5 separate regions of the Homo sapiens genome follow, and all the other regions are linked to region 1. Evidence: promoter capture Hi-C in 16 types of primary human blood cells and fetal thymus (Javierre and others, 2016). All regions are on one chromosome and are shown on one strand. Each heading gives the region's core, a stretch centred on a gene start or on the middle of the fragment in contact. The rest is flanking DNA. Distances are from core to core; before and after follow the strand shown. Region 1 holds the start of ZNF354B (zinc finger protein 354B). Region 2 overlaps ZNF354C (zinc finger protein 354C). Region 3 has its middle 8.3 kb from the start of ZNF354C. Region 4 overlaps ZNF879 (zinc finger protein 879). Region 5 overlaps ZNF354A (zinc finger protein 354A).

The links. The method cuts DNA at HindIII sites, captures the fragments that hold promoters and counts their contacts. A CHiCAGO score of 5 or more calls a contact.
Region 2: a fragment that was not itself captured here is called in contact with the fragment with the promoter of ZNF354B in region 1 in 10 of 17 cell types (non-activated CD4 T cells, M1 macrophages, erythroblasts and 7 more); the score reaches 9.0 in non-activated CD4 T cells.
Region 3: a contact is called between a fragment that was not itself captured here and the fragment with the promoter of ZNF354B in region 1, in 1 of 17 cell types (non-activated CD4 T cells). The highest score is 5.4, in non-activated CD4 T cells.
Region 4: a fragment that was not itself captured here is called in contact with the fragment with the promoter of ZNF354B in region 1 in 10 of 17 cell types (total CD4 T cells, naive CD4 T cells, non-activated CD4 T cells and 7 more); the score reaches 10.2 in total CD4 T cells.
Region 5: a fragment that was not itself captured here is called in contact with the fragment with the promoter of ZNF354B in region 1 in 4 of 17 cell types (non-activated CD4 T cells, naive CD4 T cells, monocytes and 1 more); the score reaches 5.5 in non-activated CD4 T cells.

Annotation. Positions count from the first base shown.
Region 1 is chr5:178,858,549-178,861,314 of GRCh38, reverse strand. ZNF354B (zinc finger protein 354B) reads right to left here and starts at 1,362. Exons shown (of 5, transcript NM_058230.3): 1 at 1,188-1,362; 2 at 235-318. The coding sequence starts at 267. RefSeq lists silencers at 796-875, 956-1,155 and enhancers at 1,296-1,495, 780-1,512. The HindIII fragment of the contact is 7,869 bases long and covers 1-2,766 here.
Region 2 is chr5:179,078,339-179,081,104 of GRCh38, reverse strand. It overlaps ZNF354C (zinc finger protein 354C), which reads right to left. Exons shown (of 5, transcript NM_014594.3): 5 at 1-2,422. The coding sequence ends at 1,008. Among named protein-coding and RNA genes, the nearest start is that of ZNF354C, 19 kb to the right of the region's middle. The HindIII fragment of the contact is 1,486 bases long and covers 686-2,171 here.
Region 3 is chr5:179,050,647-179,053,412 of GRCh38, reverse strand. No RefSeq gene overlaps it. Among named protein-coding and RNA genes, the nearest start is that of ZNF354C, 8.3 kb to the left of the region's middle. The HindIII fragment of the contact is 537 bases long and covers 1,094-1,630 here.
Region 4 is chr5:179,029,954-179,032,719 of GRCh38, reverse strand. It overlaps ZNF879 (zinc finger protein 879), which reads right to left. Exons shown (of 5, transcript NM_001136116.3): 5 at 1-515. Among named protein-coding and RNA genes, the nearest start is that of ZNF879, 7.5 kb to the right of the region's middle. The HindIII fragment of the contact is 1,654 bases long and covers 508-2,161 here.
Region 5 is chr5:178,718,089-178,720,854 of GRCh38, reverse strand. All of the region lies in intron 4 of ZNF354A (zinc finger protein 354A), which reads left to right. Among named protein-coding and RNA genes, the nearest start is that of ZNF354A, 11 kb to the left of the region's middle. The HindIII fragment of the contact is 1,263 bases long and covers 704-1,966 here.

The sequences.
Region 1 (2,766 bases), core at 113-2,612:
AACTAGTCACACAATGGATGAAGATTCGTGAACAAACTGTTAATTAAAAACCACTAGACACGGGTGGGGAGGGTGGGTGGTCCTCCCTACAGAATCCACCAGTCATGAGGGCGGACCAGCTCCTCCAAGAGAAAAGGACTTGGGCTCCATCCTGGCTGGAGATGGTCCCGGGTGAAGAACTCCAGTTAGTGGGGAAAATCCATCCACTGGGATCTGGGAGGGCAATGAGCTCACCTGGGGCCTCGCTTCCCGCTGCCCAGCAGCCATGTCCTCTTTCTGGCTCTCCCGGGAGGACGGCGCAGTCTCCAGAAGGCAGATCTGAGAAGAAAAAGGGAGCCAGGAAGAACCCCTTCTGCTTTCCAGCCCTGGAATCCGCAGCTCTAAAACCCCGACTCCCGCTGAGAAGGACCCCGCGCGCCCTCACAGGGATTCGGGAGGAGCCAGGAGCCCGCGGACCAGAGCAGCGCTGGGCCGCCCGGCCAGGCCCAGGCCCCACAGGCTTGGGGCTTACGGAGGGGACGCTGGACCCGCAGTGGCAGCAGCGACCCGCTGAGCCCACCAGGGCCAGGGCTCGCCCCACGCCGCTGAGTTCCTCGGCGCCAGCTGGCACTGCCAGCACCCACTGCACCGCTCAGGAAACTGAGGCAGCGCCGGGGCACCTGCCCCGTTCACGCCGCTGCGAGGCGGGCCGGGACTCCCACCACGACGGCCCCGGGACGACTTCCCTCCGCCTCAAGCCTTTCCCAGCCGGTTCCTCTCTCTCCCGCCAACGAATCGTCTCCCGACTCCACGGAAAACGGCTTTGAAGAGGAAAGCGCTGGGTGTCCCGAGGCAGGAGGAGTGGCCGTCCTGGGGACTGACTCAGAAACCGGGCCCGGCTGCCTCTGCCCTGCGCTCGGGGTCCCGGCGCCCCGAGTCCGCGAGGCCCACACGGCGCGCGCAGGGTGGGCCCGGGAGGAAACGCCTGGCCCCGCGTTCACGGCGGGCGGCGCGAGCCAGAGGCAGGGGCGTCGGCAGCGGCACCGGAGCGGCCCGTGAGGGGCGAGAGTCCAAGTCCTGGCGCGGGGGCCGGTGACAGACGCGGGGGTGCCCCCCCGCGCCCACAGAGGCCCTCGGAGCCCCGCGGCCTCAGGTCGCCCTGGCGCCAGGCGCCGCCTCCTCCCGGCACAGCCAGCCATGCCGCTCACCTCCCCAGGATCCCGCGTTCCCGGGCCGCGCCTCCCCGCCGCACTCTGCAAGCAGGAAGCTCCAGCCTCGTGACCCGGCTCCTCCGACGTCTGGGCGACCTCAAGCCCGGCGCCGCTCACCGGGCAGCGAAAGCTCCGCAGAGCGCCTGGGACCTAGAGGAGCAAGGCGGCCGCTAAGGCCTCTAGGAAATGGAGTCCACGGGAGGACGCTGGCTTTCTGGGAAGTGTAGTTCCACGCGTTTGAGGCGAGGTCGCAGCTGAGCTGTTAGGCGCCCAGACCTATGAGAGGGCCCGGGTGAGCTGTAGAGCCCCGGGTTCCTGGTTCTTCGGAAGAGAAGGGGAGGTTCCCGGAGGGCAGTAACTTGCAACTCTGTGTGTGAATTTCAGGATGGCGTGGGCGGCACGAAAACAACTACTACACAATTGGGAAAGGAAAATCCCCTGCAAAAGATGTTGACAAAGCTGGATTTCCACGTGCAAAAGATGAGCCTGTACCCTGACCGTACACCATACATAAAAATTAACTCAAAATTGATTAAAAACCTAAATGTGAGACCAAATTATTTTATAAATTACTAAAGTAAAAAGGGAAAAAACTTCAGGATGTTGGAGATGGCAATGATTTCTTGAATATGACATCAGAAGCACAGATAACAGCAAAAATAGACAAATGGGACTACATCAAACTTAAAAACTTTGGCTAATCAAAGGAAACAAAGGCAATCTACAGAATAGACGAAAATGCTTACATATCATATATCTGATTTGCAATGTATCCTGGATTTATATGGAACTTTTACAACTCAACAACAATAACAAAACCAAATAACCTGATTTTAAAATGGACAAAGGACTTGAATAGGCAATTCTCCAATGAAGATATACAAATGAGCAATGAGCAACAAGCATATAAAAAGATGGTAAACATCTCTAGGTATAAGAGAAATATAAACCCAAACTCAATGAGAAATCACTGCACCTCCATTAGGATGGCCACTATCAAAAGGATGTAAATTGGTACAATCATTACAGAAAACGGTATAGAGGTTCCTCAAAAAATTATAACTAGAGCTACATTAGGATCCACCAATCCCATTTCTGGCTATAGATCCAGAGGAAGTGAAACTCCGTGAGATACCTGCACTCCCATGTTAGCTGCAACATTATTCACCATGGCCAAGATATGGAAACAACTATCTGTTGATGGATGAATAGATAAAGGAAATGTTTTGTTTGTTTGTTTGTTTGGGACGGTGTCTTGCTCTGTCACCCAGGCTGGAGTGCAATGGCGCAATCTTGGCTCACTGCCACCTCCGCCTTCCAGGTTCAAGCAGTTCTCTGCCTCAGTCTCCCAAGTAGCAGGGATTACAGGCACCCGCGACCACGCCCAGCTAATTTTTGTAGTTTTAATAGAGATGGGGTTTCACCATCTTCACCAGGCTGGTCTTGAACTTCTGACCTCGTGATCCACCCTCCTCGGCCTCCCAAAGTGCTCGGATTACAGGCGTGAGCCACCGAGCCCGGCCACAATGTGTTTATATACACAAAGGAATATTATTCTGCCTTAAAAAAATAAAGA
Region 2 (2,766 bases), core at 179-2,678, 220 kb before region 1:
AAACAAATAGTACTCTTGGGACCTCAGGTTGGAAACGAGCCTATAATGATCACAAAACACCAGAACCAAAGACCTAGATTCTAGTCTTGACTCTGTTCACTAAGTTCAAATCCTTCGTTAGTACAATGAAAGGCTATAATTAAACTAAAATCTCTCCTGGCTCTAATGAGCTACCAGACATGCAGCCTGAGATTCTGCCAAATACATCCCTTCTGCAACAGATAACAAAGTATGTGCTTGACAGTCTTTCCAGCTGCTTCAGTTAATCCGCCTTCTACGGTACTGTAATAGTACTCTGTTCAGTTATATAAAACCACATCAATTTAAGAAATAATGGAAGAAAGTAAAAGAAAGAGAGTCTACCTTTGGGCAAGATTTTAAGAACTAAATTCTAAATCAATAAAACTACATTTTTTAATAATAAAGGACTTTTATGTTTACACACACACATGCATATGTGTATATATGTATGTTTACATATATAAGTTGCTGGTGGGACAGCTCATATAAAGAGCTTTATTATTTCCATGTGAAGAGTTAAATTTAAAATTCCTTTTTATGTTTAGCTTCTCTTTATGAAAAGAAGTGCCTCCTATGTTAGCCAGCTATTTTAAAGAAGGCCACACACTTATTTACATTATTAACTCAGTGACTGTTTTTAAAAGAAAATTCACATATTGAAGCTTACTCTTTTAAAGGGAATATGGTCTTATGAGAGAAACAAAATGTATATTCAACTATTTTTCATGATTTTTAAAAAGACCTTTTACATTTTTTCTATGAATTAAATACTCATAGGTTTTTAGATACCTTAGAATTTATGGTTCTTTTAAAATTTAACAAGTCAGTGCTCTTCATAGTCTCACTGATCAATTTTATCATGACTTAGTGGCAACTAACATATTTCCTTCAGGAGAAGTAAAAAAGACAAATCTATTAGGAGTTTGTACCCTATTTATTATTCCCTTATTCCCCAGTGAGAAGTCTTGGATTATTTGAGAGATGAACTAAACCTCATAGGCTTTATCTCCTTTAAAAAATCTCTGATACTGGGTAAGTGAGGAGCTGCAGATGAAAGGTTTCCCATATTCCTTCCACTTATAGAGTTTCTCTTTCGTGTGAACTTTTTTGTGTCTACAAAGGTTTGATCTGTAACTGTAGGCTTTCCCACATTCCATACATTTATACAGTTTCTCTCCAGTGTGGATCCTCTCATGTTCGGTTAAAAATGAATACTGGCTGAAGGCCTTTCCACACTGATTACACTGATACGGTTTCTCTCCAGTATGAATTCTCTGATGCCTATAAAGGTTAGATTTGCAACCAAAGGCTTTCCCACATTCCTCACATGTATAAAGTTTTTCCCCAGTATGAATTTTCCGATGTTCATTAAAGGATGAATACTGGTTGAAGGCTTTCTCACATTCGTTGCACTGATAAGGTTTTTGTCCAGTGTGAATTCGCTGATGTTCGATAAGGGTTACAATACGTGTGAAGGTTCTCCCACATTCCAAGCATGTATACAGTTGTTCTCCAGTATGAAACCTCTGATGTTCAGCTAGAGATGTAAACTGGCTGTATCCCTTCCCACACTCACTACATTTATAGGGTTTCTCACCTGTATGGATTCTTTGATGCCTGTGAAGTTTTGCTCTACAGTTGAAGGCCTTCTCACATTCGCCGCATTTATAGAGTTTCTCTCCAGTATGAATTCTCTGATGTACAGTGAGGGTTGAACACTGGCTAAAGGCTTTACCACATTCCCTACATCGATACGGTTTCTCTCCAGTATGCACTCTCAGATGTTTGATAAGGGTTGAACTGTTGCTAAATGCCTTCTCACATTCATTACACTTGTAAGGTTTCTCTCCAGTATGAATTCTCTGATGAGAAAGAAGGGATGATCTGTGGCTGAAGGTTTTTTCACACTCATTACATTTGTAGGGTTTCTCACCTGTATGAATTCTCTGATGTTCAATAAGATGCAGATTCTGCTTGAAGCTCTTCCCACATTCATTACAGATGTGAGGTTTTCCTCCTGGGTAAATCTGGAAGCATTTCATGAGATCAAAATTCTGTTTAAAATCTTTCCCAAATGTATAATACATATTGGGTATCCTTTCTATAGGAACACTCTGTTGTGTGACAAGAGCTGTATTTGTAAATAAGCTTTTCCCCAATTCAAGACTTGTATGGTTTCCATCTTCACTGATGGTTTTCTCATGCGAATCTATCATTTGTCTAAGAGGTTTCTTCTCTTGCTCTTCTTCTATCTCGCTCTCAAATTCCACAGCTTCTTCAAAGTTAATGTCCCAGTGACCATCCTTAATGGATTCTTTCTTTACCATTCCCTGAGATGTTTCTTCTATAAAAATGTCCTGTCTATGAGGCAATGCTTCTGTTTCAAGCCAAGTCTTGAAACCTAAAATGAATCAGAAGAATTAATGCCTCCTCTGCTGGAAGAAACAAACTGATGTATCGGTGAGACAAAAAAACTGGTAACAGTATATATGAAAGAAGAGTGATACAATCAGATTTCAAATGCTGACTTGAATCTTGGGAAGAACAGGATGGGATAAAGGAAAGTGAGGTAAACAGGTTAAGGAATGGCATGGGAGAATACACTGGACAAATTAACAATGAAAATGAAGCGATTCCACCTGGATATAGTAAAGTTAGATGCAGAAGAACAGGCTGAGTAGAAGATATGAGGATACAGAAAAATGCCAAATGATAAGCCCACGCTGAATACCATGGGATACTCCA
Region 3 (2,766 bases), core at 113-2,612, 190 kb before region 1:
AGGAAATGGTGGCTCTCAGCTTACTAAGCAAGTCTCCCGCTAAAACCAGAAGGCAAGTAAGGGTATTTCTAGGAGCCGTGGGATTTTGCAGATTATGGATTCCAAACTTTGCGGTGCTAGCCAAACCATTGTATGGGGTTACAAAGGGGGGCGACCAGGAGCCTTCTGAATGGGGACCTCTGCAACAGCAAGCCTTTTGCAAGTTAAAGGAAAAACTTATGTCAGCCCCAGCCTTAGGACTACCAGATTTGACAAAGCCCTTTACACTCTATGTGTCAGAAAGACAAAAAATGGCAGTCAGAGTTTTAACCCAAACTGTGGGGCCCTGGCCAAGACCAGTGGCGTACCTCTCAAAACAGCTAGACGGAGTTTCAAAAGGCTGGCCTCCATGTCTGAGAGCCCTGGCAGCTACAGCCCTGTTAGCACAAGAAGCAGACAAGCTAACCCTTGGGCAAAACTTAAGTATAAAGGCCCCCCCCATGCAGTGGTAACTTTAATGAATACCAAAGGACATGATTGGTTAACAAATGCTAGATTAACCAAGTACCAAAGCTTGTTATGTGAAAACCCCCACATAACCACTGACGTCTGTAACACTCCGAATCCTGCCACCTTACTCCCAGCATCAGACAGCCCTGTCGAACATGACTGTGTGGAAGTGTTGGACTCAGTCTATTCTAGCAGGCCCGATCTTCGAGACCAGCCATGGGCATCAGTGGACTGGGAGTTATACGTGGACGGGAGCAGCTTCATCAATCCGCAAGGAGAAAGATGCGCAGGATGTGCGGTGGTGACCTTGGATGATGTTATTGAAGACAAACCGTTGCCTCACGGCACTTCAGCCCAGAAGGCAGAGCTCATTGCTTTAACCCGGGCTCTAGAACTCCGTGAAGGTAAGACTGTGAACATTTATCCTGACTCTCGATATGCCTTTCTAACCCTCCAAGTGCACGGAGCATTATATAAAGAAAAAGCCCTGTTAAATTCCGGGGGAAAGGACATAAAATATCAACAAGAAATTCTGCAATTATTAGAGGCAGTATGGAAACCCCAAAAGGTAGCAGTCATGCATTGCAGGGGACACCTGCAAGCTTCCACCTCAGTAAGCCAAGGAAACTCCCGAACAGACACAGAGGCACAAAAAGCAGCATCTACTCTTTACCAGGCATCAGTCACAGCCCCTCTACTCCCTCAAACACCTGATCTGGTGCCTACTTATTCTAAAAAGGGAAAAGACGTTCTTCAGGCAAAGGGAGGACAAACAATAAAAGAAGAATGGATAAAGTCACCAGATGGGAGAATAGCTGTGCCACAGCTGCTAGGAGCCGCAGTTGTGCTGGCTGTACATGAAACTACCCATTTAGGCCAGGAGTCACTTGAAAAGCTGTTAAGCCGGTATTTCTACATCTCACACTTGCCAGCTCTTGCTAAAACAGTAGCGCGGCGATGCACAATGCAAAGCAAGGTCCCCTGTTCCTCCCGGCACACAAGCCTGTGGAGCAGCTCCCTTTGAAGATCTTCAAGTGGACTTCACAGAGATGCCCAAATGCGGAGGTAACAAGTATTTACTGTTCTAGTGTGTACTTACTCTGGGTGGATAGAGTCTTATCCAACACGAACTGAAAAAGCTTGTGAAGTAACCCGTGTGCTTCTTCGAGATCTCATCCCTAGGTTTGGACTGCCTCTACGAATCGGCTCAGATAATGGGCCGGCATCTGTGGCTGACTTAGTACAGAGGACGGCAAAGGTATTAGGAATCACTTGGAAGCTACATGCCACCTACCAACCTCAGAGTTCCCGAAAGGTGGAGGGAATGAATTGGACTATCAAAAATAGTTTAGGGAAAGTATGTCAAGAGACAGGATTAAAATGGATATAGGCCCTTCCTATGGTATTGTTTAAAATTAGGTGCACCCCCTCTAAGAAAACAGGATACTCCCTTTATGAAATATTATATCATAGGCCTCCTCCTATACTGCGAGGACTTCCGGGTACTCCCCAAGAGTTGGGTGAAACTGAACTGCAGCGATAGCTACAGGCCCTAGGGAAGATTACCCAGACAATCTCAACTTGGGTAAATGAGAGGTGCCCGGTCAGCTTACTCTCCCCAGTTCACCCTTTTTCTCCAGGTGACCATGTGTGGATCAAGGACTGGAACGTAGCTCCTTCACGGCCACGGTGGAAAGGAACGCAGATCGTTATCCTGACCACTCCCACAGCTGTAAAGGTGGACAGAATCCCGGCCTGGGTTCACCACAGCCACGTAAAAAAATCCCGCAGCCCCTGAAACCTGGAGGGCCAAACCAAGCCTGGACAATCCCTGTAAAGTGACCCTGAGGAGGACGACAAGCCCTGCTCCAGTCACACCCGGAAGCTGACGGGTCCGCGCACGGCCGAAGCATGAGGAAAATCGTCATGGGACTTATTTTCCTTATGACATGGACTTGTGGGGTAAAAGCTTCCACTGCTTCTTTTCACATGGAAGACTGCTTTCAGTGGCTACATCAGGTCACTGAGGTAGGACAACAGGTTAAAACAATCTTTTTGTTCCATAGTTATTATGAGTGCCCAGGAACTCCATAAGGAACATGTTTATATAATAACACTCAGTACAAAGTATGTAATCCAGGAAGTGGGCAGCCTGATGTGTGCTATGACCCCTCTGAACCTCCCATGATCACGGTTTTTGAAACAAGACTAAGGACTGGTCCTTTTCTAGGTGACACAAGTAAAGTAATAGCTAGAGCAGAAGAAAGAGGGGTTCCC
Region 4 (2,766 bases), core at 85-2,584, 170 kb before region 1:
CTCTCCTGTATGAACCCTCAAGTGCTGAGTTAGGGATGAGCTTTGGCTGAAGGCTTTCCTACATTCCTTACATTTATAGAGCTTCTCTCCAGTGTGGATTCTCTGGTGTTTACTCAGGGAGGAACTGTGGAGGAAGATTTTCCCACAGATATTACATTTATAACATTTACGCACTGTGTTGACCCCCAGTTGTTTAAAGAGAACTGAATACTGCTGTGAACGGGGTCTCCTTCCTCTGGAAACTATTCTCGGTTTTCTAATAAGCGATGATTTTAGACCAAGATTTTTCCCAAATTCAACACCTTTAAAGCTCCTCTCCTTCATGTAGACTTTTTTGATGGTAACTAACACTTTACTGAAAAGTCTGTTCTTTTTGCCTTGTTGCTTCTCTAACTTATCTTCATTTATGTAGGTCTTCTCCAACTTGAAGTCAAATGTGCCATCAATTATGAGTTTTTTCATGACTTCCTGATTTTCTTCTTTAGAAACTATGGTTCCAAACAAGCTTTCCCATCCTAAAGTAGACAAAACATATAAGTCTCTCTTGAACTCAGAATTTTAAAAAGTGACATAAAAACGCACAAGGATAGTTAAAAAATATAAAGCCTTGAAATCTTAGAAAAGGATGGGAAAAAGAAGAGGAGGAAGGAAGCAGGATGACAGACATGTGGGTGGGAAGGGTCTGAAGAAACCTACATATAGGTGGGCTGAGGAAATTAGGGGACAACAGGAAGAGCCAGGCTCGATCTATTAACAAAGCACAGCTCGCTAGGCTATGAGGCCCTTCTGAACACAGCCTGTGTCCCTCAGCGTCATCTCCCAGGGCAGCTACCAGTGCACTCAGGTAAATACCAAGGGAAAAACTGCAGAGGGGCTAAAATTAAATGAAAGAGAAGAGCTCCGCCAAACACAGGATGTCAAGCAGTGCTGCTCTAGGCCTCCTCAGAATGCTGTAAATAATGGCATCCACTTACTCAAGTAATACCTACTGAGTGCCTACTGTGTGCTACGCAAACGTTAAGACTCTGAGAATGACAGGGCACAAGCCAGACAAGGGCCTACTCTCAAGGTTTTCATTCCAGCAGTGTGATACAGACAATGACCAAGTAACAAATCAACAGCAGTACAAAGGAGCAATGAGAACTGTAAGAAAACACGAACGAAGCACTGTGTAATAAGAGTGAATAGGCAACTATTTTAAACTGGGTGATGAGAAAATGAAATTAAAGATGAGATCTAAATAACAAGCGCTGGCCAGACAAAAATTAGGGTATAAAGGTGATTCCAGTCAGAAAGAACAGTAACACAAAGGCCCTAGGCAGGAATAGCTTCCTGTTTTCCAGGACATATAGCAGTCCATGATAGCTGAAGCAGAGTGAACAAGAAGAGAGTGTCACAGATGAGGAAAAGAGGTGGGCCAGGCTATATTGTGGAGCGTTTTCTAGGATACAGGAAGATATTGGAAGTTCATCAGCATCACTGAGGGCTAGAAGGGACATGAAATGATGTGGTTTTTGTTTAAAAAGGATCACTCTGGTTGCTATATGAAAAACAAACTGTAATGGGGCCGGGGAGAAAGAGAACAAGGGCAGCTGCAGAACAGGCAATGAGGCCGCTGCACTCTTCCTGGATGAAGATGGTGGTGGCTGACACTGGCATGTGGTGATAAGAGACGGAAAGAGGTGGGCGTATCTGGGATGTTCTGCAAGTAGCACTGGCAGGTATCTTCACCTACGAATAGAGCGCAGAGGCAATGAAAGAGGGGACTCAAGGATGACTCCTAGCTTTTGGTCTGGGCAACTCAATGGACACCAACACCATTATCATGATATTGGGGAATACTGGGAGAAAAGAACATTATTGAGAGTAATTTTTTGTCTACCTTTTTGGTTACTTAAGATACAGTACAAGAAATGGAATCATTGATTCAAAAGAAATGTATTTCCTTTTGTATTTTATGAAACAGCTTTTATTTTCTTAACTACAAAAGAAATATATCATCATAAGAAAAACACAGAAAACTATAAAAATGAACACATAGCTCACCCATAAATACATCATGCAATTGTAATCACTATCATATGTGGGACATAGCTCACCAGAATTTTCTGCATATAAAAAATCACTTAATTAAAAAATTAAAATGGATTGAAATTAAGCTTCCTTTACCTCCATTTCACTTAAAAATCATGAGCTTCTCTCCATGTCAATAAATGTAGGCTGACATCATCATTTTAATGGCAATATAATATGTCCAATGCATGAAAACATCATCATTTACTAAATCCCTTTTTGAGAGTCATTTACCCTCCTCCTTTTGTGGCAGTGATGCCTCATGTTATAACAAACATTCTTTTACAACATCTTTGTAACTCTGCACAGTTATCTGTGCAGAAATTATCTTAACATTTCTACACTTGGAATTGATTTTAATAAAACCAGACCATCCTCAGAAAGACTACCAGTTGCAGTCCCACTAACGATACTGCTTATCACTCACAGCAGTGGCAACACATTGGGTATCTATTTCTTAATCCTTGGTAATAAGGGAAAAATGGTAACTTGTGCTTCGTTGGAATTTCATTGATTTTAATTTAATGAAGTTGAATAGTGCTTCAAAAAATCCCTTGTGGATTTTTAATCCACATGCCTGGCCTTTTCAATCACAATACTCATGTCTTTGTACTGTGATGATTTACTCTTGGTACCTTTGCCTCTTTATATTATGGCTTTGTATTCCCATAACCATCTTAGCAATATTAGTAA
Region 5 (2,766 bases), core at 86-2,585, 140 kb after region 1:
GGCAAAAGTAACTGCAAGCAGTGGTGTTAATTTTGATGGATGTGCTAAGAGCGGTTTTGATGTTTTTACAGATGAAATGATTTTGCTGTCTGGGATGTGCTCTAGCATAACCTAGTGGACGAGATGAAAGGGTTTGTGTTAGTTTGCTAGGGCTCCATACTGAAGTACCACAAGCTTCGTGGCTTAAAACAGTAGAGATTTACTGTCTCACAGTTCTGAAGGTCAAAATCAAGATATTCGCAGGGCCCCGCTCCCTCTGAGACTCTGCATAGAATTCTTCCTTGCCTTTTGCTAGCTTGTAGCGATGGCCAACTTGGAGATCTCCGTGGCCTGCAGCTGCATCAGTCCTATCTGTGCCTCCGTCTTCACACTGTGTTCGCCCGGTGTCTTCACATCATCTTTCCTTCTGGATGCCTGTGTCCAAATTTCCCCAGTTTACGGGGACAGCAGTCACGCTGGATTAGGGCTCACCCCAATGACTTCATCTTAATTTGATTGAACGTGCAAAGACCATATTTTAAAGTAAGGTCACGTTCTGAGGTCCTGGAAGTTAGGACTTCTACGTCTCTCTTTTGAATGATGCGGTTCAGCCCATAACAAGGTTGTCAATAGAATAGTGTTGCTGGTTATTGAAACTGGCTGGAGATTCACTGTACAATTCACACTACTTTTACATATGCTGAAAATTTCTATGTTAAAAGCTTTAAAAATAAGAGTTACCACAACAACATTTCTAAAACAGCTTTTCTCTTTTCCACCAGCACAAAGATGATAGAGGATGTTTACAAATAGGCAGTACTACCCCCATCATGGTTTATGTGCAGTTCCCAGCAGATTGCTCCTTGAGTTCTCTGACTCTAGAAAACCTTGTGAGACTGCAAATGCAAGTGACATTTTTTTTTTTTTTTGAGACGGAGTCTCGCTCTGTCGCCCAGGCTGGAGTGCGGTGGCGGGATCTCGGCTCACTGCAAGCTCCGCCTCCCGGGTTCACGCCATTCTCCTGCCTCAGCCTCCCAAGTAGCTGGGACTACAGGCGCCCGCCACTACGCCCGGCTAATTTTTTGTATTTTTAGTAGAGACGGGGTTTCACCGTTTTAGCCGGGATGGTCTCGATCTCCTGACCTCGTGATCCGCCCGCCTCGGCCTCCCAAAGTGCTGGGATTACAGGCGTGAGCCACCGCGCCCGGCCGCAAGTGACATTTTTATAGGTGGAGCTTTTACTCTGACTAGCTATAGGATAAGGTGGGGGTGGATACTTCAGCAAATAAGTCTGGAAAACTGACTTGCATTCAAAGACTTGGGTGCTGCCTTCAGCCCTTGTGCTACCCCTTCATCTAGCCTATGGCGATTCCTTTCACATCCTATCTTATATGTCAATTCTTACGAAACACTCCAGCAGCGTCCTGCTGCACCCCTTTTCTACCTGCACCCTCACTATCTAAGGACAGTTGGATATGATTCTAAGCTCGTGTTCACGTCCATTTCTAGCTTATGTTTCTATTGTAGAAATTGTCACATTGTATTGTGATTACCTACTGATGTCTTCATTTCTAATGTCTGACTATAAACTCTCTGAAGAAATCAACTGTTCCTTTTAATTACTGGATCCGTAGGGAACTGTGGATCACCGATGCCTAGGATAGAGCCTAATACATAGTAGGTACTTTTTAAATATTTGATAAATTAATAAAGTAAGGCGTGACCAATGCTTTTTGAAATAACATGACCAATTCTGTGTATTAAGAGGGGTAAATCCAGTGGGAAATAATACTGGAAAGGCAAGAAACAGGTCAAAGGAATAACTTAAGATCAGGAGCAAGTCACTCTACAGTGAGGAGATCCTGAACTTAGACATATTCACGATGGCTTATTAGAGACATTTTAGTGATGAGATTTAAGAGAATGTGCAGCCTGGGCAACACAATGAAACCCTGTCACTACGCAAGATAAAAATATTAGCCAAGCTTGGCAGTGTGCACCCGTAGTTCCTGCTGCTCAGGAGGCTGAGGTGGGAGAATCGCTTGAGCCCTGGAGTTTGAGGCTGCAGTGAGCTATGATGGCACCAGTGCATTTCAGCCTGGGCAACAGAGCAAGACCCTGTCTCTCAAAAAACAAAAAAATGAAGATTTTGATGACTGCCTAGGGAAGAGAAATTCTAAGATAAAACTAAGAATTTACGGTAAATTAACTGAAGAGATGATGGTGTCATTTTGAACTGGAAAACATATAAAAAAGGTTTGAAAAGGAATGCTCTGGGTTCAGATTTGGACAGGCTGAATTTAAAAAGAAAGATACACAAGTGGAAATTCTAACCGGCAGTTGGAAAGACCTCTGTAAAGTATTTTTCAGGATAGTCGTACACATAAGAGGTGTGGGAGTAAATGAAATCATCCAGGGAGATAGGGTTGAAGAAACACTCTCTGGGTGTAGTGAGAGTCCAGGTGGAAGAGTCTAGACCTGATAACAGGAAGTGGTCAGGGCAGTGGCCATCAGCAAGATGATTCTGGCTTCTCAACTTCTGACCTAGGTCTTCACCTTGTTTAACAGGTAGCTGAGGACTGGGCTTGATTCTAGGAGGAAGCAAAGGTTGAACTGCACCTCAGGAGACCTATTTGTAGGCCTCTAGAAAGTTCTAAACAGATCATAAGGAAGAGTCAGGATATCCACAATCCAAAACTTACGTCTGCTTCTGTGAAAAACATGATTTCAGGACTAAAATATTGGCACTTTAGAGTTGGGATGAGTTTTCCAGAATTGATAATGGAC